7 separate regions of the Homo sapiens genome follow, and all the other regions are linked to region 3. Evidence: promoter capture Hi-C in 16 types of primary human blood cells and fetal thymus (Javierre and others, 2016). All regions are on one chromosome and are shown on one strand. The core of a region is centred on a gene start or on the middle of the fragment in contact, and the rest is flanking DNA. Distances in the headings are between cores, read along the strand shown. Region 1 has its middle 41 kb from the start of MYO1G. Region 2 holds the start of AEBP1 (AE binding protein 1). Region 3 holds the start of TMED4 (transmembrane p24 trafficking protein 4). Region 4 has its middle 36 kb from the start of PURB. Region 5 holds the start of POLM (DNA polymerase mu). Region 6 holds the start of SNHG15 (small nucleolar RNA host gene 15). Region 7 overlaps CCM2 (CCM2 scaffold protein).

Region 1 (3,481 bases), core at 715-3,214, 360 kb after region 3:
AGTTAAGGAATGGCGATAACTGCTTTTACTCCCATGATATCGTTCTCCCAAGGTGAGTCTTTAGAATGGATGCTTTTGTTGGATTGGCTTCTTCCCTGTTTATTTGGGGGGAACCGTTTTAGAAAAGAGGTTATACTTTCTTGTAAGTCCTGGGGCTGGCATCTGTGCTTCGTAGCCCTCTTTGAAGCTTTAGGAATTCTCAGGTTTGACACTGGCACAGCAGCCCTTGTAGAGAGACGGCCCAGGACCGCTCGTCCCCTGTTCTTGGGTCTGGCAGCCTGTGACTGACCTGGTGTCCCTCATGCAACCTCACAGAACAGAGTCAGGGTCACAGCACTGTCATGGCTGCACCATGACCTGGCAGTCATTCTGAGAATTGTGGGTGACCACAGGAACATGCAGCAGCCTTTTATTTCAAATAAGCTCCAATAAGCTCATTGCTTGGAAAGAGTAAACTGTGGGGTCTGCAGCTTAGAGGAGACATTCTGGGCTCCTTCACTCACTGTCAGAGAGCAGGCTATCTGGGAGCATCGAGTTTGATTGCTTTTTGTAGTCTAATTTTTTTTTTTGAGATGAGGACTCGCTCTTGTTCCCCAGGCTGGAGTGCAATGGTGCAATCTCAGCTCACTGCAAACTCTGCCTCCTGGGTTCAAGTGATTCTTCTGCCTCAGCCTCCTGAGTAGCTGGGATTACAGGCGTAAGACACTGTGCCTGGCCCTAATGTTTTATTATATTTTAGTATTCAGTGATTTTACTGAAATCTATCATAGTTTAAAAGTTTTGTGAGCGTCATCTCTTAACAGACAACTGTCTTGCAAATAGAAAAATAAATAAATGTAAAAAAAAATTACTGAATTGATTCTTTGAATAGCCAAGGAAACTTTGTGGTTGTGTTATAAAATTACATGTGACAAAATAAGTTGAAATTCTGAAGGCTGTTTTCTCTGGGCTGGTGCTTGGCAGTCTCCCCAGCACATTCATGAATGCCATGTCAATACTCCAGGCTGTCTCCATATTTTAGAAATTCCAAAATCGATTTGAGATTTGTAACTACATTCTATAAGAAGGCTCCTGTGAGAGTAGAGTCAAAGAAAAGACTTTCTAGAAGCTTGAGAATAATGCCCTTCTCCCAGCCCTCCCCTGCACACCTGTCCCATGAAGTCAGGAGGGTGAGACTTACAGGCATTGATCATCTGGAGACTTCTGAAGGCAGGAGCAGGGTAAGAATCGAGGCAGAGTGCAAAGAGAATGGGAAGTACTGTTCCCTAGAGACAAGGACTTACTCCGATTTGAGTCTTGCATTTCTCACTGGGCACAGGAGAGGCCCTGGTGTTTCTCTGGCCTAAAATGATGGAGCATAGGGTGTAGCCAGTGGAGCAGAGGACCTGCTGCCCCATGGAGGGCCTCCAGGCTGAGCAAAGGGCTCCCCAAACAGAAAAGAGGTGGAGGCACACACGTCTCAAGGGGCCCATGGGCCGTGGCTGCTCTATTCTGGTGAAGGGCGTCCTCCACATGAGAGAGGTCAGCCCCCCAAATAAAACTGTGCATGGTCACATAGCAAGCCCCCTGCCAGCTGAGACTGCTGCATCTCCCACCCTCTAACAGCGTCAGTGACAGATGGGGCACAACTGGGCAGGAACCAGAATCATCCCCTCTTCAGCCACAACATTGCTGGGCCCCAGGTGGATGAGAGACCCTGAGGGGGTAAGACATTGGAAAAAAGATAGAGGGGATGAGATGGCATATCACCCCTCACAGACACATGCACATTAACTCTTCTCCAAGACACAAGTCTGAGCTGAACGGCAGTGGGAGCAGAAGTGGGGACCTCTGAATAAGTATAAAAGTGGATTTTCTTAATTGTCTGGATTAGTGAAAATGACCAAAAAGCAATGGCCATGACTTATAGATATGTGTGTTCCCATTACCTAATGATACCATCTGCTATAAATTTCTTAGCAGGTATTGTACCAATAAAAGCATTATTAGAAGCCATTAGAACAATGACTAAAATAATTATGGTATCAATCCTAGGACTGAGTGAGTTGGGCAGCCTACCAGGGTCTTATCTACACTGTAAAAACAAAACCTCTTACCCTGCTCTGAGTTACTAAAATGGAAACTGGAGACTTCTTTCTCCACTCCTGAATCTGAGCCACGTCACAAAGTGGGACCCATTGAAGAAAGGTGACCCTGGGGCATGTCCACAGAAATGGGCTGTGACTCTCTCTCCTAGGTGTTTCCAGAGGTGCTTGCAAGACAGCTGTGCTCTGGGGAAAGGGGAATGAGCAAAGACCCAGAGAAACCTCTGTGGACCACAAATCAGAGAGGAGCAGGTGGAGGTTGAGGAAGGTGGTGCTGTAGTGGGCCCAGTGTTCTGCAAACCCACCTTCGGTAATTTCCCAAATTGTTCATAGATGTCAGGAATAGACATACTTAGTTACTTGCCAGAAACTCTGCATTAGGGGCCGATGAGCTAGAGCTCTTCAGCTAAACTGGTTATATGTATGTAACATCTGTATCTATGTTGCTATATATGTCTATATGATCATATATACATGTTGCACGTATATATTTGTGCATGTACATTCATGTGACAAAAGAAATAGAAAGATCAATTTGACCTTTTGAAGACACAAAATTTAAAAATACAATGCATTTGTTGGAAAGAATCTAGTATATAAGAAATGTGTAATGTTCAGGGGAATTAATCAACACAAGCTGTGGTTTGTGTCACGTTTTAAACTTAATGATATCTGTAGACCCAATGGATGGCAGAAATAGAAATGAGTATTGTCCATATTTAATGATGAGGAACTTGAAGCTTTCCCACTAAGATCAGGAACAAAGCAAGGATGTTCCCTCTCACCACTCTTTTTCAACATTGTACTGGGCAACCTGGCTAATGCAATAAGATAAGGAAAGAAAACAAAAGGTATACAGGGTGACTTTTTTTTTTTGAGCGTCTTGCTGTGTCACCCAGGCTGGAGTGCAGTGGTGTGATCCCAGCTCACCACAACCTCTGGCTCGCGGATTCAAGCGATTCTCCTGCCTAAGTCTCCCAAGTAGCTGGGACCACAGGTGCCCACCACCATGCCCTGCTAATTTTTTTTTGTATTTTTAGTAGAGATGGGGTTTCACTATGTTGGCCAGGCTGGTCTTGAACTCCTGATCTCGTGATCCATCCACCTCAGCCTCTCAAAGTCCTGGGAATTACAGGCATGAGCCACCGTGCCCAGCCAGGATGACTTTTTAAAAAAGAAATAAGGCCGGGTGCAATGGCTCACGCCTGTAATCCCAGCAATTTGGGAGGCCAAGGTGAGCAGATCACCTGAGGTGAGGAGTTCAAGACCAGCCTGGCCAACATGGTGAAACCCCATCTCTATTAAAAACACAAAAATGAGCCAGGCGTGGTGGCGGGCGCCTGTAATCTCAGCTACTCCAGAGGCTGAGGTGGGAGGATCGCCTAAACCTGGCAGGT
Region 2 (3,068 bases), core at 538-3,037, 480 kb before region 3:
AGGGGAGAGCTTGCGGATCCTTGCTGCCACCAGGACTGGCCTGGGGGCACGTGGCAGGCAGAGGCAGGCTCAGGTGCACAGGGAGCCTGGGTGTTGGGGCTCAGGGTCTGCTCTGAGCGCCCCAGTGGGCACAGCTCAGGTTGATCTCTGAGGGCAAATGATGAGAGCTAAAAGGCAGCAGTGTGAGTGCCAAGAATGTGTGCTAGGCACAGCACATGCATGATCCTGTATGAACGACAAGGAGAACAGGGACACAGGTGGACGGCACTGAGGCTACCTGCCGAGATGTGGTGCCTGGGAGGTAGAGCCAGAACCTGACACAGTCCCACTGCTTTTTCAAGGAGATGCAGTGAGAAAGCAAAGGCAGGGTCTTGGCAGGACCAGGTGTGAGAGGAGGCAAGGCCTCCTTGTGGTCCTGCTCCCAGGGGGTGGCATGTATCCCAGGCCCAGCAGCCTCCACTGTGGCCTCCCCGGCTGCTGCCTGCTCCAACTCACTCGGGGCTGCTCTGGGGACCCAGGTGCTTCCTGACCCACTTTTCCTCTTTCCTTTTGACCCCAGGTCCAAACTCTGCCCTGTCAATCATCCCAGGGGCTCCTAGGCTTCCCTACCTGACTACTTCACTGGGGCCAAACCCCGCAGACAATCGTGGCTTAGGGCTGTCTGCCTCTGCACTTGGCCCATGGACTACCTGTGAGCTTTCTCTTGTGTCCTCATTCCTTTAAGGGGGAATGTCCTCGGAGCTCTGTCCTTAGCTCCCCATTCCTCCAGTATGAGACAGGGACTAGGCTTGAGTCACGGGGGACTGTGCTGTGTCACGCCCTGCCATACTAATGGGACCACTCTGCCTGTTGATGGCCGTTGTAGGGCAGCCAACATTTGCCCTGGAGAAGCCTTATGGCAAACACCAGGCACCAAGGTGCACATCCCTGATGGATCCTGGGATCAGTTGACACTCAATCCACCTGCCTTCTGGGTCCTCTGGGCCCTCTGGGTCCATGTGGCAGCTGGAGGTATGGTAGACACTTTTTAAAAAATGAGTTCTGGTAAGAAGAAGGTGATAAATGGCTATTTGTCCACGTTGGGACCCGGAGGGGAGGGATGGCATGCCCTTACATGGGACTCCTACCCCCAGCGGGGCAGCTGGCCACTCTGAGGGCAGTTTTGCACCTGCCTCCTGGCTGGAAAGTGAGTTCCCACTGTGCTGTCCCTCCCTGGGGCCCAGCACGGGGCCCGGCCCCACACCGACCTGAAGAGGTTGGTAGGATGACTGAATGAATTGACGCTGGGATGCAGCAGGGCCCATGGGCAGAGGCTCCAGAGCCTGGGAAGGATGGGGTGGCCTTTCTGTGGCCCTCCGAATTGAGAGAGGTCTCAGAGGCCTGACACCACGGCTTTCCGTCCAGGGTTCCTGGTCACCCGCGGAGGGCTCAGAGCCCCGGTGGACTCGGGGTCCCGCCTTAAGGGGGGTGCCTAGGGCAGAAGGAGGAGGGATGTCGGCCCCCTCAGACCCGCACCCCAGGCCCTCCCCACCACCTTTCCTTCCCTCAGGCCCTCTGTCTTCCCAGTCGCCCCGCCCCCTGCCCCTCTGTCCTAGGCGCAAGTCTCCGGGCTTGGGACGCTCGCCGCCAGCGCCCGCCCGCCTGCCCCGCCCCTAGCCCCCCGCCCCCCGCCCCCCGCCCCCCCGCAGCCCCTCCGTCCACTCTCGGCTCCTCCTTCTCTTCCTCCTCCTCCTCCCCGGGGGTGGGGAGCCGGCTCCGGAAGCCCCGGCGCCCCCGCCCCGGGCCCCGCCAGCGCTTTGGAGACGGCTATCCGCGCGGGAGTGCGCCACGCGGGGCCGGAGCGCCTATTAGCCGCCAGGACCTCGGAGCGCCCCGACCACCCCTGAGCCCCTCTGGCTTCGGAGCCCCCCAGCACCCCTTCCCGGGTCCCCTCGCCCACCCTAATCCACTCTCCCTCCCTTTCCCGGATTCCCTCGCTCACCCCATCCTCTCTCCCGCCCCTTCCTGGATTCCCTCACCCGTCTCGATCCCCTCTCCGCCCTTTCCCAGAGACCCAGAGCCCCTGACCCCCCGCGCCCTCCCCGGAGCCCCCCGCGCGTGCCGCGGCCATGGCGGCCGTGCGCGGGGCGCCCCTGCTCAGCTGCCTCCTGGCGTTGCTGGCCCTGTGCCCTGGAGGGCGCCCGCAGACGGTGCTGACCGACGACGAGATCGAGGAGTTCCTCGAGGGCTTCCTGTCAGAGCTAGAACCTGAGCCCCGGGAGGACGACGTGGAGGCCCCGCCGCCTCCCGAGCCCACCCCGCGGGTCCGAAAAGCCCAGGCGGGGGGCAAGCCAGGGAAGCGGCCAGGGACGGCCGCAGAAGGTAAGAGCCCAGGGCAGGGCGGGGGTGTGGGGGGCTGGCATCTCAGGTGGGAACAGGGGGATTCGGTAGGGTCTGGCCACTCCCCAGTCTGCTAGGGGAGGAATGGCTGGCTTACTAATGCGCACGCGAGCCCAGATGCCTGGAGGGACCCTGTGCTAGGCCGAGGTCAGCGCTGGCGTGGAGGCACATCCAGCACCCGGGCGGCAGGGCCGCTTTTGGGGGCCGGTGGCTCTAGGGTTGGTGCTGTGGTTGTACGGGTCGCTTATCCCCATTCCTCCAGTACGCGACAGGTACTAGGCTTGAGCCACAGGGGACTGTGCTGTGTCACCCCCTGCCATACTAATGGGACCACTCTCCCTGTTGGTGGCACAGCTTCACGTCGTCCCTCCCTCCTGCCTTTGCCCTCCTACTCCAGGAGGTCTCACGTAGGTGAGAGAGTTTCAGGTGGTGGTGAGCACAGGGCTTCAGGTGGTGGTGAGCAATGGGTGGTCCTACATTAGTACAGGAAATTAGATGAGGTGATGCATCACTGAAGCATTTAACCCACGGCCTCTTGCATAATCAGTTGTCAGTAAATCTTAGCTGTTTTCATCGTGGCCCTCTGGAAGGTGGCAGAGGGTCTTGTGATCCCTGTCTCCCAGGAGATTCCAAGGCACCATCCAACATTCCTGATGTCAGCAGCCCCTCCCCTGCCACCCCAGCTCTAG
Region 3 (3,092 bases), core at 14-2,513:
CCTATCTAAACCAATACTTCTCATTCCATTCTCTGCAGAGCTGATCTCCCAAGCAGAAACTTGAGTAGGTATAGTGGGTATAAAGGTCAACTGCCCTCTCAAATTACAAGGAGATATGCACTTGCCCTTTGGTAATCCTGCTCCTTCTGAATCTGTTCCACCTGATCAAGCAACTGGCGGGCGCGGAGCTGTAGCTCCGTCAGCTTATCTTTTGCAGCAATCTCAGGGTAGTTGTTGGCATGCTCCCCAACCTGGATGTCGAGATGCACCCGCTACAAGGAAACATGGAATGTATGAGTGGTGGGGCCTCCAGTTGTCTGTTCCAGGGTATGGAACCCACTATTGTCCCTGGCTGTGGAGCAGAAGGCAACATCTGTCTCCCCAATTCTGACTGTGCTACAAAGTTTCACAATCTTGATAAATCAAAATTTGGAAACAAGTGAGAGATTCTAAGCTGAAGCCAAAGAGAAAATCCTCTTACCAGTTTGCCACCAGCGAAGAGAGCCATCCTGGTAGAATTGGAGTGCAGACAGATTTGATGGTCACCGGGCGTGTGGGAGGTGAACGTGAAGCGGCCCTCCGAGCCGTACTGCCGGGACAGCACCACCTGCAACATATGTGAGTGAAGGCCCCACCTTTATACCGCAGGCTCTCCAAGTGCAAGTTCCTGTCCCTTGAGGCCTCCTCCAGGCAGTGCTTTACACCCCACGGGAGCTCCACTGAAGAACGGCTGCGTGGGCCAACGCCAGCCTTACCTTGCCGTCGGGGTCCTTCACTTCCACGTGCATGCCCAGGCCAGGGGTCGAGGGCAGGAAGACCTCCTTCTGCTTATCCCACATCTGGGTACGATAGTTGCCTGCGGGGCAGACACATAGTCACGACCGGCCCTAGTGGGCCGCCTCTCCGCCCGGCCCCCTCCGACGTGCGGCCCGGAGCTCTAGGCAGGGGGCCTGGCGTCCTCGGGGCACCCTCAGGCTAGGTACTGGGGGAGCCAGCGACCCGGCTGGGCTCGGGAGGAGGGAGCGCCGCCGAGGGCTGAGCTGGGTACAAAGGGCCTCCCCACCCTCAGCCCGCCTGACCGATGACCATGGTCTCGTCGGGGATTTCCTCGATGAAACAGCGCTTCTCGGTCTCGCCGATGTGGAAGTAGAGCCCCTGGGCGCCTGTGGCGCACAGCGCGAGAAGCAGCAGGGCCTGCCGCCCCATCGCCCGCAGAGGCCCAGCCCCGACACCTGCCATCGCGCCTCAGCCCCTAAGCGCCTGCGCACATTTGCGCATCGCTCTGCGCCTGCGCGCCACCCTAGCGACCCTGAGAGTTAGGGGAAGAGGACGCCTGCGCAGTGATATGTACTCGCCGTCTCCTGCAACTCCATCCGTACCGAACACTGCCGCGCCCCGCCCCCTCACACAGCCCGGCGCCCGCCTACCCCCGCAACGAGAGTAGAGGGCGCATGCGCAATGACGTTCGCCCTTAATTTCTCGCCCCTTACCCCGCAGCTTACCTCCGGCATCTCGCAGGGGAGGCACGCCTGCGCAGTCACGCCCGCCCTCGGCCCCAGTCAGCGATTTGGGTCTCGGAGCACCAAGGAGACGGTGGACGGAATCTGACCAGGCTTGGTGGCTACGATGGCCTGAAGCGTGCCTTTTGGGTTCTCAGCTCGGGCTCACAAGTGTTTTCTGTGCTAAATACAAAAAGCCCTGTGATGTTTTGCTTTGCGTGTCCACCTATCTGACTCGTAAGAACCGAGGCTGAATCCAGACCCACACTCTGTCACGTCGGGAGAGCCTGCCGCGGCGAGCCTCTGCGAGCGGGCATTTCTTGGGTGGGGACCAAAAGCCCAGTGCTGCCATAGTTTCGGATCATTCTTTTAAGAAGCTGGGGCCGGGCGCGGTGGCTGGCACCTGTAATCCCAGCACTCTGGGAGGCTGAGGCGGGCGGATCCCTTGAGCCCAGGAGTTCGGGACCAGCCTGGGCAACATGGTGAAACCCCCGTCTCTACAAAAAATTAACCGGTGTGGTGGTGTGCGCATGTAGTCCCAGCTACTTGGGAGGCTGAGGCAGGAGAATCGCTTGAACCCAGGAGGTCGAGGATGCATTAAGCAGTGATCGCGCTCCAGCCTGGGCGACCGAGGGTGATACCTTGTCTTAAAAAAAAGGTGGGAGAGTGGAACGAAAACTTGGAATAAGTAGGGTCATGGAGCTTGTTTACATCCCCTAGTTACAGCACATCCTTTTGAAAGTGAAAAACAAACTGGAATGTTACTTAGTGGGCATGGAATCGAAGCAACGGAAGGTTAAAACTGTTTTTATCAAGGCCAGGCGGGCGCGGTGGCTCACGCCTGTAATGCTAACACTTTGGGCGGCCAAGGCTGGTGGATCATCTGAGGTTAGAAATTCGAGACCAGTTGGGCCAACAAGGTGAAACCCCCGTCTCTACTAAAAATACATTTTATCAACAGAATTTCGAAACTTTTATATAATAGAATAATTACAATGAACTTTCATAAAGAACTTGAGCATACCTGGATTTTGGTATCCGTAGGGGTCCAGGAATTATCCCCCTTGGATAATAACGGAGGGCTGTACTCATCATCCAACTTCAACAACAGTTTGCTGCCTTTCTCATTTCATGTATCCCTTTCTGCATTTTTTTTTGAAGTGCTGTATATTAAAGCAAATCCTGGACATCATGTCATTTCACCTATAAATACGTCAGTGTGTGTCTCTAACAGATAAGGACTTTATACTATTATCACACCCACCAAAATTTTAAAAATTATTTAACATCACTTAATACCTAGTATGTGTTTAATTTTCCCCATTGCCTTAAAAAATTTTGTACATTAGATATTTAGGGTCCAAACAAGGTTTACTTACTGCATTTCATACAAATATATGTCTCTTAATATATAACAATTTTGGCTGGGCACAGTGGCTCATGCCTGTAATCCCAGCACTTTGGGAGGCTGAGGTGGAAGGATCACTTGAGGTCAGGAGTTTGAGACCAGCCTGGCCAACATGGTGAAACCCTGTTTCTACTAAAAATACAAAAATTAGCCAGGTGTGGTGGTGCACACCTGTAATCTCAGCT
Region 4 (3,038 bases), core at 515-3,014, 340 kb after region 3:
TATTCAGCCTACAAATCTGGTCAAAAGCTTTTGATCTGTTCAATCCAAGCTTCAAGCCTACCTGTCAATGCTTTGTGAAGTATATTGAGCTGCAGAAACTTAAAGAAACAGATGAAGAGAAGTTATTTGTAGAAACAAGGAAAGCTTTATTGGCAGAAAGTGTCATTTTAAGATGCGTAGGAGAAACAAGGACTCAACAGGAAGGTAGTCACGTTTCCTGGAAATCTGAACACATGATTGTCAGACCCCAAACTGTGTTGAAAGAAAACCAGCCTCAGAAAGAAAGAAGTTCCACAGGACCAGCATTTGGAAGCACCTGAAGGACAGTTAAAAGGTCTTGCAGCTCCGTGAAGGGTTTGTATATTGTGGATACTGACATACACACTCTACTCACTAGCTCAATGTTGAGCTGTTTCTAACAGTTGAACTACATAAACGTCTCTTGATCTTGAAGGCATTATATTTGCCTTCTCTTAGTCCTTACTTCTGAGTTGTCATAAAGCTCGGTATCATGGTTTGACAGAAGCAGTTATGATCCAGAGGATTTATATAAAAGAATAATAAAAACTGAAAAAAAAAGGAGTTATGTGAACTTTCATGGTAGGACATCATTAAATAAAGAACTCCAGCTGGGCGTGGTAGCTCATACCTGTAATCCCAGCACTTTGGGAGGCCCAGGCGGACAGATCACTTGAGGTCAGGAGTTTTGAGACCAGCCTGGCCAAGATGGTGAAACCCTGTCTCTACTAAAAATACAAAAAAATGGCCGGGTGTGGTGGCTCATGCCTGTAATCCCAGCACTTTGGGAGGCCGAGGTGGGTGGATCACCTGAGGTCAGGAGTTTGAAACCAGCCTGGCCAACATGGTGAAACCCCTTCTCTACTAAAAATACAAAAAAATGGCATGGTGCGGTGGCTCATGCCTATAATCCCAGCACTTTGGGAGGCCAAGGCGGGTGGATCACTTGAAGTCAGGAGTTTGAAACCAGCATGGCCAACATGGTGAAACCCCTTCTCTACTAAAAATACCAAAAATTAGCTGGGCATATTGGTGGGCGCCTGTAATCCCAGCTGCTCAGGAGACTGAGACAGGAGAATCGCTTGAACCTGGAAGTCGGAGGTTGCAGTGAGCTGAGATCGCACCATTGCACTCCAGACTGGGCAACAAGAGCGAAACTCTGTCTCAAAAAAAAAAAAAAAAAAAAGCAAAAGCAAAACAAAACAAAAAAATTAGCCAGGCGTAGTGGCACATGCCTGTAATCCCAGCGATTCTGGAGGTTGAGGCAGGAGAATCACTTGAACCTGGGAGGCAGCAGTTGCAGTGACCTGAGATCATGCCACTGCTTTCCAGCATGGACAGCAGAGCAAGACTCCATCTATAAGTAAATAAATAAATAAAATTCCCTAGGTGCTTAAAAACAAAGGAAGAGGAAAAAAAAGGAGGTGCATCTAACATCTAGGAAGAGCACCTGGGGGAGCACCTACTGGGAGCACCTGAAGGAGCAACTCAAGGGCCACTGGCAGGAACCTCCGGGAAGCGCAGAAGGCATGTGTGGGGAGAGATTGGTGGGGGTTGGGTGTTCTTACCTACTGAATGGGCGGGCTAGATCAAGAGGTGACAACCTGGAAGAGAAATGGGGCTAGAGACAGGCTGGCTGTAAACCAGTGGTTGTCGAGGAGATAGCATCAGTGAGGGAGGTGCCCCAGTGGGAGAGCCGCCCTGAAAAGGGAGGAGGGTGTCTCTCCACTGTTGAGCCAGAGCCACAAAGAGGGTTGACTCTGCCATAGAGCGGCCTTTCTTCCCAGCTATTATGTCGGCTCTGCAGGGACCCTCACACTTGATGAGTCAAGGGGCTTGTGCCTTACTGAGCAGCCAGAGGGATCCCTCTCTGAGACCCTCAGACCTGCTCCTTGCCTGACCAGTGCCAGCCCTCCTCCCCTTCCTCACCAGGGGATGGCTGAAGCATGGAAAAGTGGCCGGCAGCAGATGGTTGGGGGTGGTGGTGGGGGGCATGGGGACTCAACGCCCTGGGTTGCTGAGTCCTGTGAGACCTGTGGCCCCGGGACACCCCACCCCAGGCCTGGGCTCTCAGCAAGAATGCCATGTGGAGCCTGTCAACTAGCCCGTCAACTAGCACTCTCGCGCCCCCTGGTGGCCGTCCCTGATGAGGTGGGTATAGGACATGGTCCCAGTGAGAACTTGTGGCAATCCACAGTTCATGCCTACGTTCATTCATTCATTCATTCTTGAAATATTTGGGGAGTACCTGCAGGCCTCCGAAGCTCTATGCTGTCCACTCTGGCACCCACACGTGCTCTGAGCACTTGAAGTGCAGCGAGTCCACTGGAGAAGTACAGTAAGTGTAAAGAGTACACTGGCCGTCAAAGACATAGTGCACACAATGTAAAATGTAGTATCGATCATTTTCATATTGATGATACATTGAAATTATAATGTTTTAGATCAACCATTTTAAATAAAATATGATTACAATCAATTTCACCTGTTTCTTTTTTACCGAGACCAGCTGGGTCGGGGAGACCCTAACCTAGTGGTGCTAGAGGAATTAAAGACACACACACAGAAATATAGAGGTGTAAAGTGGGAAATCAGGGGTCTCACAGCCTTCAGAGCTGAGAGCCCCGAACAGAGATTTACCCACATATTTATTTTTTTTTTTTTTTTTTTTTTTTGAGACGGAGTCTCGCTCTGTCACCCAGGCCGGACTGCGGACTGCAGTGGCGCAATCTCGGCTCACTGCAAGCTCCGCCTCCCGGGTTCACGCCATTCTCCTGCCTCAGCCTCCCGAGTAGCTGGGACTACAGGCGCCCGCCACCGCGCCCGGCTAATTTTTTGTATTTTTAGTAGAGACGGGGTTTCACCTTGTTAGCCAGGATGGTCTCGATCTCCTGACCTCATGATCCACCCGCCTCGGCCTCCCAAAGTGCTGGGATTACAGGCGTGAGCCACCGCGCCCGGCCTACCCACATATTTATTAACAGCAAACCAGTCATTAGCATTGTTTCTATAGATATTAA
Region 5 (3,313 bases), core at 1-2,500, 500 kb before region 3:
CTGCCTGCCACATACTTGTTTGGCTCTTGGGCAAGCCACGTGTCTATACTTTGATTTCCTCTTCTGTAAAGCAGAGATAACATATCCACCCTGTGGGGTTGTTGTACAAAGATAGTGCCTTGTACACTCTAAGCTGCTATCATCCTCTCCTGAGTGGGTCTGGCGCACTACTGATCCCTGGTAATGTTAAAAAATCAAACACAACTGTGGGGGAATACTAGCCCCAGGTTCGTTTGCTCTCTCAACCTCCAAACTAGGGGGCACCCCCAGCTCCCTTACTCTGGGTGTTGTCTCTGTAGCCGCCATTTTTTCTTCTCTTGGTTCCCTTCCTACAAGAGCTTCTCAGTCGTGTTATTTACTCAGGCCTGAGGACAGAGGAGCCTGCGGGCTCCGGGCCTCTTGAGAAGTCAGTCTCGCTCACAGGTGGGACATAGCCCAGGCAGAAGGGCTGTTAGCAAATACGACTTTTTTTTTTTTTTTTTTTGAGACAGAGTCTCACTCTGTCGCCCAGGCTGGAGTGCAGTGGCGCGATCTCGGCTCACTGCAAGCTCCGCCTCCCAGGTTCATGCCATTCTCCTGCCTCAGCCTCCCGAGTAGCTGGGACTACAGGTGCCCGCCACCACCTCCGGTTAATTTTTTGTATTTTTAGTAGAGACGGGGTTTCACCGTGTTAGCCAGGATGGTCTCGATCTCCTGACCTCGTGATCTGCCCGCCTCGGCCTCCCAAAGTGCTGGGATTACAGGCGTGAGCCACCGCGCCCGGCCTACTGCTTATTAATTACCCCTGACCTCTGGTTTTGATTCTCGCAGTGATCCTTTAAAACACGCCTCGCCCTAATTAATAGCACCCTTTACAGAAGAGGAGATGGAGGCTCAGGGAAAGGTCACAAGACCACGAAGTGCCACTGCAAACTTAGAATCCAAAACCAGAAGTGCCATGGAAGCCCTCGCCGCGCCGCGCCGCCCCGCACCTGCAGGCGTCAAGGACGCGGAAGCCTTTGGAGCGCGCCAGGCCTGTGAGGAAGGCCCGGCGGCTGCGACCCATGCGAGGCTCGACCAGGTAGATGGCGACTCCCGGGAAGCGCGTCGAGGGCGGCGTGGAGGAAGCGGCATCGCCGCTAGGGGACCCGACCCGCGCTCGCCGCCGTTTGGGGAGCATTGGGACGACAGCCTCCAGCAGCGCGGAGCGAACGCAGAGGGAAACTCCGAGCGAGACGGAAGGAAGCCCCAGTGAGGCTGACGGAAGCGGGTGGGCGGGCGGGCGGCCGCCGGCTGGAAGAGGACGTGGCCCCGCCCTATGCAAATGAGGCCTCTCCGTGGGGCTCGCTACTTGGGCCAGTCGGAGCGCTGGGGAGGGTCCGGGCTCCTACAGGATTGGGTGTCCCGGCCGCTCCGGAAGACCCGCCTCCATGCAAATAACGGCAGAGGACCCGCCTTTTATTTAAATTAATGTCTCGGAAAGCGCTGTTCGGCCCCATTGGCCTCCGGGAGGAGAGGCTGGGCTGGAGCGGGGCGGGGAGGGTGTTGGAGGGGGTGGAGGAGGCGGGGTCAAGGGGGCGTCCCCGGCTAGGGAGGGTGAACTGGGACCTAGGCCCGGGCGGAGCGGGGTGGGCTGTGTCCTTGGCGCCGGGGCTGGGTCTAGGGTTGAGCCGGCGGCTCGGGGCGGACGCGTGCGGGCTGTGCCCGATCCCTCTGCGCTCGGGACTGTCACACGGAAGCCGGCGGGCGCAGGACCGACACGCGGGTTTCCAATGCGCTGGTGGGGCGGTCGCTTCAAACACGCGGGAAGATTTTTCAGTCGAATGGCATTAGGACAACTGGCAGGCCATTTGGAAAAATAGAAGTTGGTGCCCTTCCTCATTCCTTAACACCAAAATAAATTCCAGATGGGTCAAACATTTCCATCTAAAAAGGAAACCAACAACGTACTGGAAAAAAGTCGGTGAATGTTTTTATGATCTAAATATCACAATAAACTTGGAAACACTAAAGGAAAAGAATGATAAACTGGACTACAGACAAATTTTAAATCTGATTAAAAATTAGAGTCAGAAGATAAACTGGGATAAAGTGTGAGATATTTTGGAATTAAGATTATCTCATGATAATCTTATCAAATTGTCCATAGATAAAAAGACAATAATTTAATAGAAAAATTAGCAAAAAAACTCACGTAGATGATTCTTAGAAGAAATCCTGGTCAATAAATTTATGACCAGAGTGCCCAACCTGTCCAGTCGTTACAGAATACCTAAATGAGAATATCTTCAGTTGTGGGTTTATCAAACATTCAAAAAAATTGACCACACATGTTGAAGGTGCGAGGTAATTGGCAATCCATAGGAAGGACTGTGGAAGCCAATGTGGCAACCACATCCAACAAAATGAAAACAAAATAATACACATTGATCCAGCAATTCCTTTCCCAAGATTGGGATTGCATTGAATCTATAGATCAAGCTGGGGAAATCTGATGTCTTGATAATATCAAGTCTTCTGTCTATCTTATTTAGATATACTCCATTTGTAACCTCTGTTACGGTAGTGTGGCACTGCTCAGCCTAACTGATGGGACACCAGATCAGATGCAACCCCCTTCCACATGCCTCTCCTCATCACTGCCCCATCGTCCTCAGTCTTGAGCCCCAGACTCCTTGAGCACCTATCCTTTTTCTTTGGCTCCTCTCTGACATCTTTAGTGGGCTGGCTCTTCCCCATCTCTGCACTCAGAGCACAGGGCTGAGGGGAGTGGGGGAGATGGCTCAGCCCAGGCATCCTCTTGACCTCCTACACCATCTCCCAGCCTCCTAATTCATCTACCTCTTCAGGGCTGTAGAGCTTCCTGGGCCTCAGGACCCACATACAGAAGCCAGGAGGCCTGCGTATGGTCCCTCTCTCCCCATCCTCCCCTTGTGCCAGCAGGGATGGGCAGGCTCTAAGGGTCTTCGTCTGTGGATCTGGCTCCTACCCTTCTCAAGGAGGAGGCTCTGCCCAAATATCCCCTGAGCAGATCCCTCTAGCTGTCTAAAACCATTTCTGTTCCTTTTAATGTCCTCTGTCTGGCCAGAGCACCTGGGCTCCCCTTGGAGCCCTTGTTCTCTCCTGGGAAGGCAGAGGCAGTTTTTAAGACTATGAGACCTGAATACTTAAAACACTGGGCAACTGTGCAAAAATGTTTGTGCAAGGAATCTCATCCAAATGACAGTGGAAGAAACTGCCTAGCTTAGAAATCAGCCAGGCCCTCTGAGTGGTTGCTGCAAAGTGTCTGCTAGGACAACATGGGGCTGAAGGATTCATGAAGATTGGCCAGTGG
Region 6 (3,463 bases), core at 502-3,001, 400 kb after region 3:
GCCTTGTAAATATCCTATTCCATGAGTCTCTCAGGGCAGGACTCTTCCCTGTTATTCCTCTTCACTGTTTCAACTCCTACCCTTACCACCACTCTTGGCTTCATCCTCAACTTTTATAAGACTTTTGCTTTAAGTGTATAATAAAATAAAATTTGTACTGAGCCTGGAGCACAGCAAACACTCAGGATTCCCTTCACCTTTCACACCAGCATTGTCCAAAACAACTTCCACAGCGACAGAAATGCCCTCTAATCTGTGCGGTCCAATATGGTAGCCACTGGCCACCTGTGGCTACTGATCATCTGAAATGTGGCTAGTGTGAAAATGAAATAAAACTCCAAATTTAATTTAATCATGTGTGCCAAGTGGCTACCACATTAGATGGCACGGATCTATACAAGGCCCAGGACACTAGATCCAGGAGGGAGGAAGTCATTGTCTGAAATTTCTATAACCTTGCTCTGGATGGAGCAGGGCAAGGCCTCAAACCGTTTCAAAACTGTTCTAGCAAGCACTGAAGGAATGCATAGGGTCACCGCAGACCCAAGCACGCTGGAGGCTTGCTACCCTCATTCACCCAAATCCCCCACACTCAAGGAATCTGGCAGTCCACTCTCACTAAGCACCAGTCCCTGCTGGGGGCTGTGGGAAGAGACCAGAGTTCAATTAGGCACCTGAGCTTGGTTCCAGGAGCCCAGAGCTACTAATGACTCTCAGGGAAAGATCCTTTCTGGCTGAGGAAGAAGGGAAGGTGTCTTGGAAGAGATAACCTTATTAAATTATTAAATAGATCAGACAACACGAACTAAACTTCCACATTATTCTATGACACTACAATTCTAGCATGGCTTTTCACTGTGACCAGAAACATCCTTATCATCATGTAGTTAATATAAATACTGCCTTTTCCCCTTCATTTTTTTCTCATGTATCTTACGGCTCAGAAATCACTTCTGAAGGAGTAAGTAGACCAGGCACATGAAGTAGATTTCATTTTCCCCATGAAATAATGGTTCAGAGAAAACGCAGGCCTAGTTCCAGGAAGGCAGAGTTGGGGTCTCTGCAACGTGATTTACCGGGGCATCTTGCAAAGGAGTTGCTGTGACAGTAAGCTCTTCCACTTTGAGACCGTCACCTCAGCCACGGCTCCCACCTAGAAGGGAACAAATGCAGTTAGCTCCAAACGCAGTTAGCTTCAGCTTGTGCCTCTGAACCATTATCCAGCTCTAGCTCCTTGCAACGCCTGGCCCACTCTACAGCCTCTCTTGCGGCAGGTCTACACGCCACCCCATGCCTTCCGGTGAGGTCCCTCCTGACCACACGTCCCATCCCACCTACTGGGGTCCACCCAGGTCATGCAGAAGCCCCACTTCTCGGCTGAAAGAGAAGCACGAGGTTACTCATCAAGTAATCCCCGAGTCTCCTCCGGGTAAAATGTTCCGAACGCGCTCAACCGCCTCTTGAGAGGAAGTAGCACGTGTAGTGAAGGCTTGGTCTCCAAGAATCACTGGTGCCCCCACTCACTGCGGCCCAGCCTCCCACGCCGCCCGCCACTGAACCCAATCCCCCAGGACCCCTACCTGGGCTCAGGAATGGTCAGGCAACACGTGGGGCCCAGGATGGCGGTGGATGACTAGACTGCCGAAGACCGCGCCGCTGCGACTACGAAGTACGGAGTACGGAGTACAGGTCTGCCAGCCAAGACTGACGCCGCGCGCTGCGCCGCGCACCTCGACGTCACCGCGTAGTCCCGCCCCGAAGCCGTGCGTGGCCGGGGCCACAGCGTTTGGGGTAGATGACGTCACGCGGCCGCGGGCGCTCGCTTGGTAGGGTGTGCTGGGGCGTAGAGTTTAGGGTCCTGAGGCTGCGTCTGCGTGTCAACTCAGTGGAGTCTCTCGACCGCCCTTTGTTACCCTCCTTTAGTGACCAGAAGGCTGGAGTTACGTAATCTGCCCCTACAGCTAAAAGGACGGAGGCCTGACGGCGTGGCCTGGAGGGACGCGCTGAGCCCCTAATGGGTGGTGCCTTCCTGGTGCGGCCGCACAGGCGGGGCCGGGCGGAATCCAAGCACGATGTGGACACGGAGCCTTGGGAATGAACAGGAGCCTGCCTGTGGGAGCATGTGGGAAAGGTGATGCAGGTGGAAGGGCAAATACAAATTATACATAGGGTTTAATTTTCCCTGAGGAAAAGAAGGGACGAGAAACCATCCCCCTCCCTTTTTCTTTCAAAATTTCAGCCTCTCTCCTTTCCAAATGTACTCAAGTCTTTTTCTTATATGGCCAGGTTCAACTCAGGAATGTTTCTTGGGAGCCATCTCCTTGAAGTGTAATTGTTGGCTGGGTGCGGTGGCTCACGCCTGCAATCCCAGCACTTTGGGAGGCTGAGGCGGGCGGATCACAAGATCAAGAGATCGAGACCATCCTGGCCAACATGGTGAAACTCTGTCCCTACTAAAAATACAAAAATTAGCTGGGCATGGTGAAGCGTGCCTGTAGTACCAGCTACTCGGGAGGCTGAGGCAGGAGAATCGCTTGAACCCGGGAGGCGGAGGTTGCAGTGAGCCGACATAGCACCACTGCACTCCAGCCTGGAGACAGAGCGAGACTCTGTCTCAAAAACAAAGAAAGAAAAAAATGCAATTGTTAAGGGACGAAAGGGCCAAGAGTCCAGCTTCTTAGGAGGACAAAGGCTTAACTTGGCACCTGACTCCAAATTGCAAAACCTACATAATGTGATGGGCTATCTCTACTTAGCTGCATAGAAAAAGTGAGTTTCTGTCTTTGTGTTGCCTTTAGCAGGTTGCATGTGATGTACGGCATCACAATCTGGTTTAATACTTATTCAGTAATGGTTTTCTGTCTCTTCTACCTTTGTGGAGAGGTTTCATGGGTTGGGAGGAAACTACTCTCCACCCCCCACCCACCCCCAGGCAGAGGAAAGCACATTGAAAGGTCCTGAAATTGGGAAGGACATGGTTTGCTGGTGATACAGCTAAGTATTACAAGTTTGTAGTGTTCTGGAAGGGTCTCAATGAGGAGCGGGAGATAAGGACGATGTGTTCAAGGGTCTTGAATGATCAGGCTAGAAAAGTGAGAACGTGGTTCTATAAGTAAAAGCAGAGCAGTGCTTGAAACTCGTATTTTATGTATTGCACCTAGTAAATACATTCAATCACTTTACAGTATACAAATCCCATACTTCACTAAGTGTCAAAACCCTAACAGACAGATAAGGCAGAACTGTTACTTCCAGATTACTAACGTGGAAACTAAGCCCCACCCAAACAAGTTAAGTGGTTTGTTCAAGACCTCCTACAACAGGCTGGGCGCGGTGGCTTATGCCTGTCATCCCAGCACTTTGGGAGGCCGAGGCGGGGAGGCGGGTGGATCACCTGAGGTCAGGAATTTGGGGCTAGCCTGACTGACATGGAGAAACCCGGTCTCTACTAAAAATACAAAAT
Region 7 (3,470 bases), core at 966-3,465, 450 kb after region 3:
TTTTGCTGGTTCTTTTAGTGGATTCATTTCTCCTTGTAAATTAATAAACAGGTGCCCTGACTTATAAGTTAGTTTCTGAGAATTTGTTGAGCAGATCCAGTTACTCCAGATCCTGTTCACCCAAGTGAGCTGATAATGTTGAGCTTCAGATTTAACAAAACTCAAGACCCGCAGTTGGCATCTGAGGGCCAGCCTTGCCCAGAGCCTGAGCCTTGGCTTTGTGTGAGGAGGGCATTCTCACTAGGTAAGCCCTAGTAGGCCAGATTTAGTTTTAGTTTTTTAACTCAGAAGTACATTTTAGGTTTCCAACTTTAAGAGTTGTTTTAAGCTTAAGACGTTAACTTTGTAAGAATTTGTAAGGATCTAGGCATCTTCCAGAGTGAGTTTAGAAAGTTCTGTATAGTTATCTGAGGTGGCATATATTCCATATGGATGTCTTTGCACAGCGCTGCATGGTGACTCAGAGCCCTGTGTTCCCTCCTCCTGGCTCCGTACTGTGGACTCTGGCAGGTCCCTTCGACCCTCACAGCCTCAGTTTCTTCAGGAGAGACTTAGGCTGGGATAGACTCCACACCTCACTTTGGTGCTGGGACTCCACTCATGGAAGAGAAATAGCACTTAGCCTGGTTTCCTTCTGGGGACTGAATTGGTCCTTTGGTCTCTGAGGTTCAAAGGTGACAAGATCATTTAGTGGTGATGAACAGGCATACTCAATCAAATACATGTTGAATGAAGAATGGTTGCCTGGGCTAATCCCACCTTTTAAATTCTATGTGTCCATCTATAGTACATTCTAGTGAGTTAAAGAACCCATGATGGTTTACTGGAATCCTGATTCTGTACATTAAAAATATGCTAAACCATTTAATTATTTCCCTCGTTCCTTCCAGACAGGGTCTCACTCTGTTTCCTAGGCTGGGTGCAGTGGTGTGATCACAACTCACTGCAGCCTCAACCTCCCAAGCTCAAGTGATCCTCCCACCTCAGCCTCCTGAGTGCCTGGAACTACAGGCTAATTTTTAATATTTTTTAGAGACAGGTCTCGCTATGTTGTCCAGGCTGGTCTTGAACTCCTGGCCTCAAGCGATCCTCTTGCTTTGGCCTCCCAAAGTGTTGGAATTACAGGTGTGAGCCACTGTGCCTGCCCTCAATTTATTTTATTTATTTTTTTCTTGAGACGGAGTCTCACTCTGTCACCCAGGCTGGAGTGCAGTGGCGTGATCTTGGCTTACTGCAACTGCTACCTCCCAGGTTCAAGCAATTCTCCTGCCTCAGCCTCCCGAGTAGCTGGGACTACAGGTGTGCACCACCATGCCCGGCTAATTTTTGTATTTTTAGTAGAGACGGGGTTTCACCATGTTGGCCAGGGTGGTCTTGAACATCTGACCTCAGGTGATCCACCTGCCTTAGCCTCCCAAAGTGGTGTGATTACAGGCGTGAGTCATTGCACCTGGCCTCGATTTATTTTTTAACTAGAACTTTCCTTTAAATTTATTTTCTTTCTTTTTTTAGATTTAAAGAGAACAGGGCCTTGCCCAGGTGCAGTGGCTTACACCTGTAATCCCAGCACTTTGGGAGGCCGAGGTGGGTAGATCACTTGAGGTCAGGAGTTTGAGACCAGCCTGGCCAACATGGTGAAACCCCATCTCTATAAAAATACAAAAATTAGCCAGGTGTGGTGGTGCACACCTGTAATCCCAGATACTCGGGAGGCTGAGGCAGGAGAATCGCTTGAGCCCGGGAGGTGGAGGTTGCAGTGAGCCGAGATCACACCACTGTACTCCAGCCTGGGCTGTATAGTGAGACTCCAGGTCAAAAAAAAAAAAAAAAAAAAGAGGGCCTTGCTTAGTCACTTAGGCTGGAGTGCAGCGGGCAGTCATAGCCCACTGCAGCTTTGAGCTCCTGGGTTCAAGTGATTCTCTCCCCCCAGTCTTTCAGGTAGCTAGGACTACAGACGTATGCCACCACGCTCAGCTTTTTTCTTTTTAATTAATAATTATTATTTGTTTTGAGATGGTCTTGCTCTGTCACCCAGGCTGGAGTGCAGTGGTGTGATCACAGCTCACTGCAGCCTTGACTTCCTAGGCTCAAGTGATCCTCCCACTTCAGCCTCCCAAGTAGCTGTGACTACAGGTGTGTGCCACCATGTCCTGCTAATTTTTATGTTCTAATTTTTGTATTTTTTTTAAAAGATGAGGTCTCACCCTGTTGCCCAGGCTGGTCTTGAAGTCCTGACTCTAGTGATCCTCCCATCTTGGCCTCCCAAAGTGTTGGGATTACAGGTGTGAGCCACTGCGCCCAGCCATCAGCTTAAATTTTGTGTTCAAAAGCAACTTCTTTTCCAAAAATCTGAGGTGGCTTCTTGTTCAGTTTTGTATCTGGAATAGCAGAGAGCTCTTCCCCAGCACCGGCTGTCCCTCCTACCACCCCCTGCAGCTGAGAGCTGAGCAAACATTACCTCTGAAAAGCCCCATCATCCTCAGCGAGAACAGCAGCTACCCTGCATTCCGTGCTGAATGGGTAGGAGTGGCAGAGGGAGGCTGCAGCAGATGTGCAAAGATGCATTTCTTTACTTAATAGTGTTAATATTCCACTTTCTAGGAAGGCTTACCCATCAATTAAAATTATTTGAGACATTAAAAAAAGAAACTTAGGGTAGCTGCTATTGAAGACTAAGGACTAGGGCCAGAGAGACGCCTGCCTCCAAGTAGTCCACAGAATCTGCTTGTTAAAATGTTCGTGATTTGGAGGCCCAGGTAGAAGGGGCAGGTTCCTCTGAAGCGCCTTGGCATGCCCTATCTTTGGCGTTCCGGGGTCGCCCTCCTCTGCTAGTCTGTGAGCAGTCAGAAGGTTGTATCTCCTGTTCATTCCTCTCCTTGTCTCTTGCTGCTCAGAACAGCAGCTTTAAGAACAGGGTGGCTGAGCCCTAAGTGTACCTTTGGAGCATCCTGTGTGTCTTCAGCATTGATTGACTGTTTTTACTGTGGATTTAATTTCAGTTACTTTACTCTGGTCTTACTACTTCGGCTTGACTGTGACATCGTTGAGGGCAGGGGCTGTGTCACCTCTAACCAAAGGGCCTCCCCAGATGCCTAGCCTGGTCCAAGCGTTCCATCAAGAGTCAGTACCAGCGTTTATTGCTGTCCAGTCTGTGCAAGCTCCATGCTGGCTGCTGGGTAAGAGCCAAGGGCAGCCAGGCCTAATGGCTCATGCCTGTAATTCCAGCACTTTGGGAGGCTGAGGCTGGTGGATCACCTGAGGCTGGGAGTTTGAGACCAGCCTGGCCAACATGTTGAAACCCCATCTCTACTAAAAATACTAAAATTAGCCAGGCATGGTGGTGGGTGCCTGTAATCCCAGCTACTCCAGAGGCTGAGGCAGGAGAATTGCTTGAACCGGGGAGGCAGAAGTTAAGTGAACCAAGATTATGCCATTGCACTCCATCCAGCCTTGGTGACAAGAGCAAAACT

Evidence for each region. The method cuts DNA at HindIII sites, captures the fragments that hold promoters and counts their contacts. A CHiCAGO score of 5 or more calls a contact.
Region 1: a fragment that was not itself captured here is called in contact with the fragment with the promoter of TMED4 in region 3 in 2 of 17 cell types (M0 macrophages and naive CD8 T cells); the score reaches 5.5 in M0 macrophages.
Region 2: the fragment with the promoter of AEBP1 here is called in contact with the fragment with the promoter of TMED4 in region 3 in 17 of 17 cell types (naive B cells, total B cells, fetal thymus and 14 more); the score reaches 11.8 in naive B cells.
Region 4: a fragment that was not itself captured here is called in contact with the fragment with the promoter of TMED4 in region 3 in 12 of 17 cell types (total B cells, naive B cells, monocytes and 9 more); the score reaches 10.2 in total B cells.
Region 5: a contact is called between the fragment with the promoter of POLM here and the fragment with the promoter of TMED4 in region 3, in 13 of 17 cell types (naive B cells, fetal thymus, monocytes and 10 more). The highest score is 11.1, in naive B cells.
Region 6: a contact is called between the fragment with the promoter of SNHG15 here and the fragment with the promoter of TMED4 in region 3, in 5 of 17 cell types (fetal thymus, monocytes, neutrophils and 2 more). The highest score is 9.8, in fetal thymus.
Region 7: a fragment that was not itself captured here is called in contact with the fragment with the promoter of TMED4 in region 3 in 3 of 17 cell types (naive CD8 T cells, monocytes and total CD8 T cells); the score reaches 7.9 in naive CD8 T cells.

What each region holds. Positions count from the first base shown.
Region 1 is chr7:44,936,160-44,939,640 of GRCh38, forward strand. No RefSeq gene overlaps it. Among named protein-coding and RNA genes, the nearest start is that of MYO1G, 41 kb to the right of the region's middle. The HindIII fragment of the contact is 1,716 bases long and covers 1,107-2,822 here.
Region 2 is chr7:44,102,558-44,105,625 of GRCh38, forward strand. It overlaps AEBP1 (AE binding protein 1), which reads left to right and starts at 1,788. Exons shown (of 21, transcript NM_001129.5): 1 at 1,788-2,361. The coding sequence starts at 2,109. The HindIII fragment of the contact is 6,426 bases long and covers 1-3,068 here.
Region 3 is chr7:44,580,968-44,584,059 of GRCh38, forward strand. It overlaps TMED4 (transmembrane p24 trafficking protein 4), which reads right to left and starts at 1,264. Exons shown (of 5, transcript NM_182547.4): 1 at 1,080-1,264; 2 at 756-856; 3 at 482-607; 4 at 126-272. The coding sequence starts at 1,239. RefSeq lists silencers at 888-987, 1,388-1,547 and an enhancer at 1,638-1,747. The HindIII fragment of the contact is 9,471 bases long and covers 1-3,092 here.
Region 4 is chr7:44,920,139-44,923,176 of GRCh38, forward strand. It overlaps the pseudogene MRPS23P1. Among named protein-coding and RNA genes, the nearest start is that of PURB, 36 kb to the left of the region's middle. The HindIII fragment of the contact is 3,245 bases long and covers 143-3,038 here.
Region 5 is chr7:44,081,280-44,084,592 of GRCh38, forward strand. It overlaps POLM (DNA polymerase mu), which reads right to left and starts at 1,251. Exons shown (of 11, transcript NM_013284.4): 1 at 972-1,251. The coding sequence starts at 1,159. RefSeq lists an enhancer at 1,025-1,525 and a silencer at 1,237-1,816. The HindIII fragment of the contact is 8,170 bases long and covers 1-3,313 here.
Region 6 is chr7:44,984,945-44,988,407 of GRCh38, forward strand. It overlaps SNHG15 (small nucleolar RNA host gene 15), which reads right to left and starts at 1,752. Exons shown (of 3, transcript NR_152597.1): 1 at 1,581-1,752. SNORA9 (small nucleolar RNA, H/ACA box 9) reads right to left here and starts at 566; the gene lies at 434-566. RefSeq lists a silencer at 144-324 and enhancers at 851-1,597, 1,443-1,562, 1,598-2,345. The HindIII fragment of the contact is 12,531 bases long and covers 1-3,463 here.
Region 7 is chr7:45,029,568-45,033,037 of GRCh38, forward strand. All of the region lies in intron 1 of CCM2 (CCM2 scaffold protein), which reads left to right. Among named protein-coding and RNA genes, the nearest start is that of CCM2, 31 kb to the left of the region's middle. The HindIII fragment of the contact is 3,779 bases long and covers 327-3,470 here.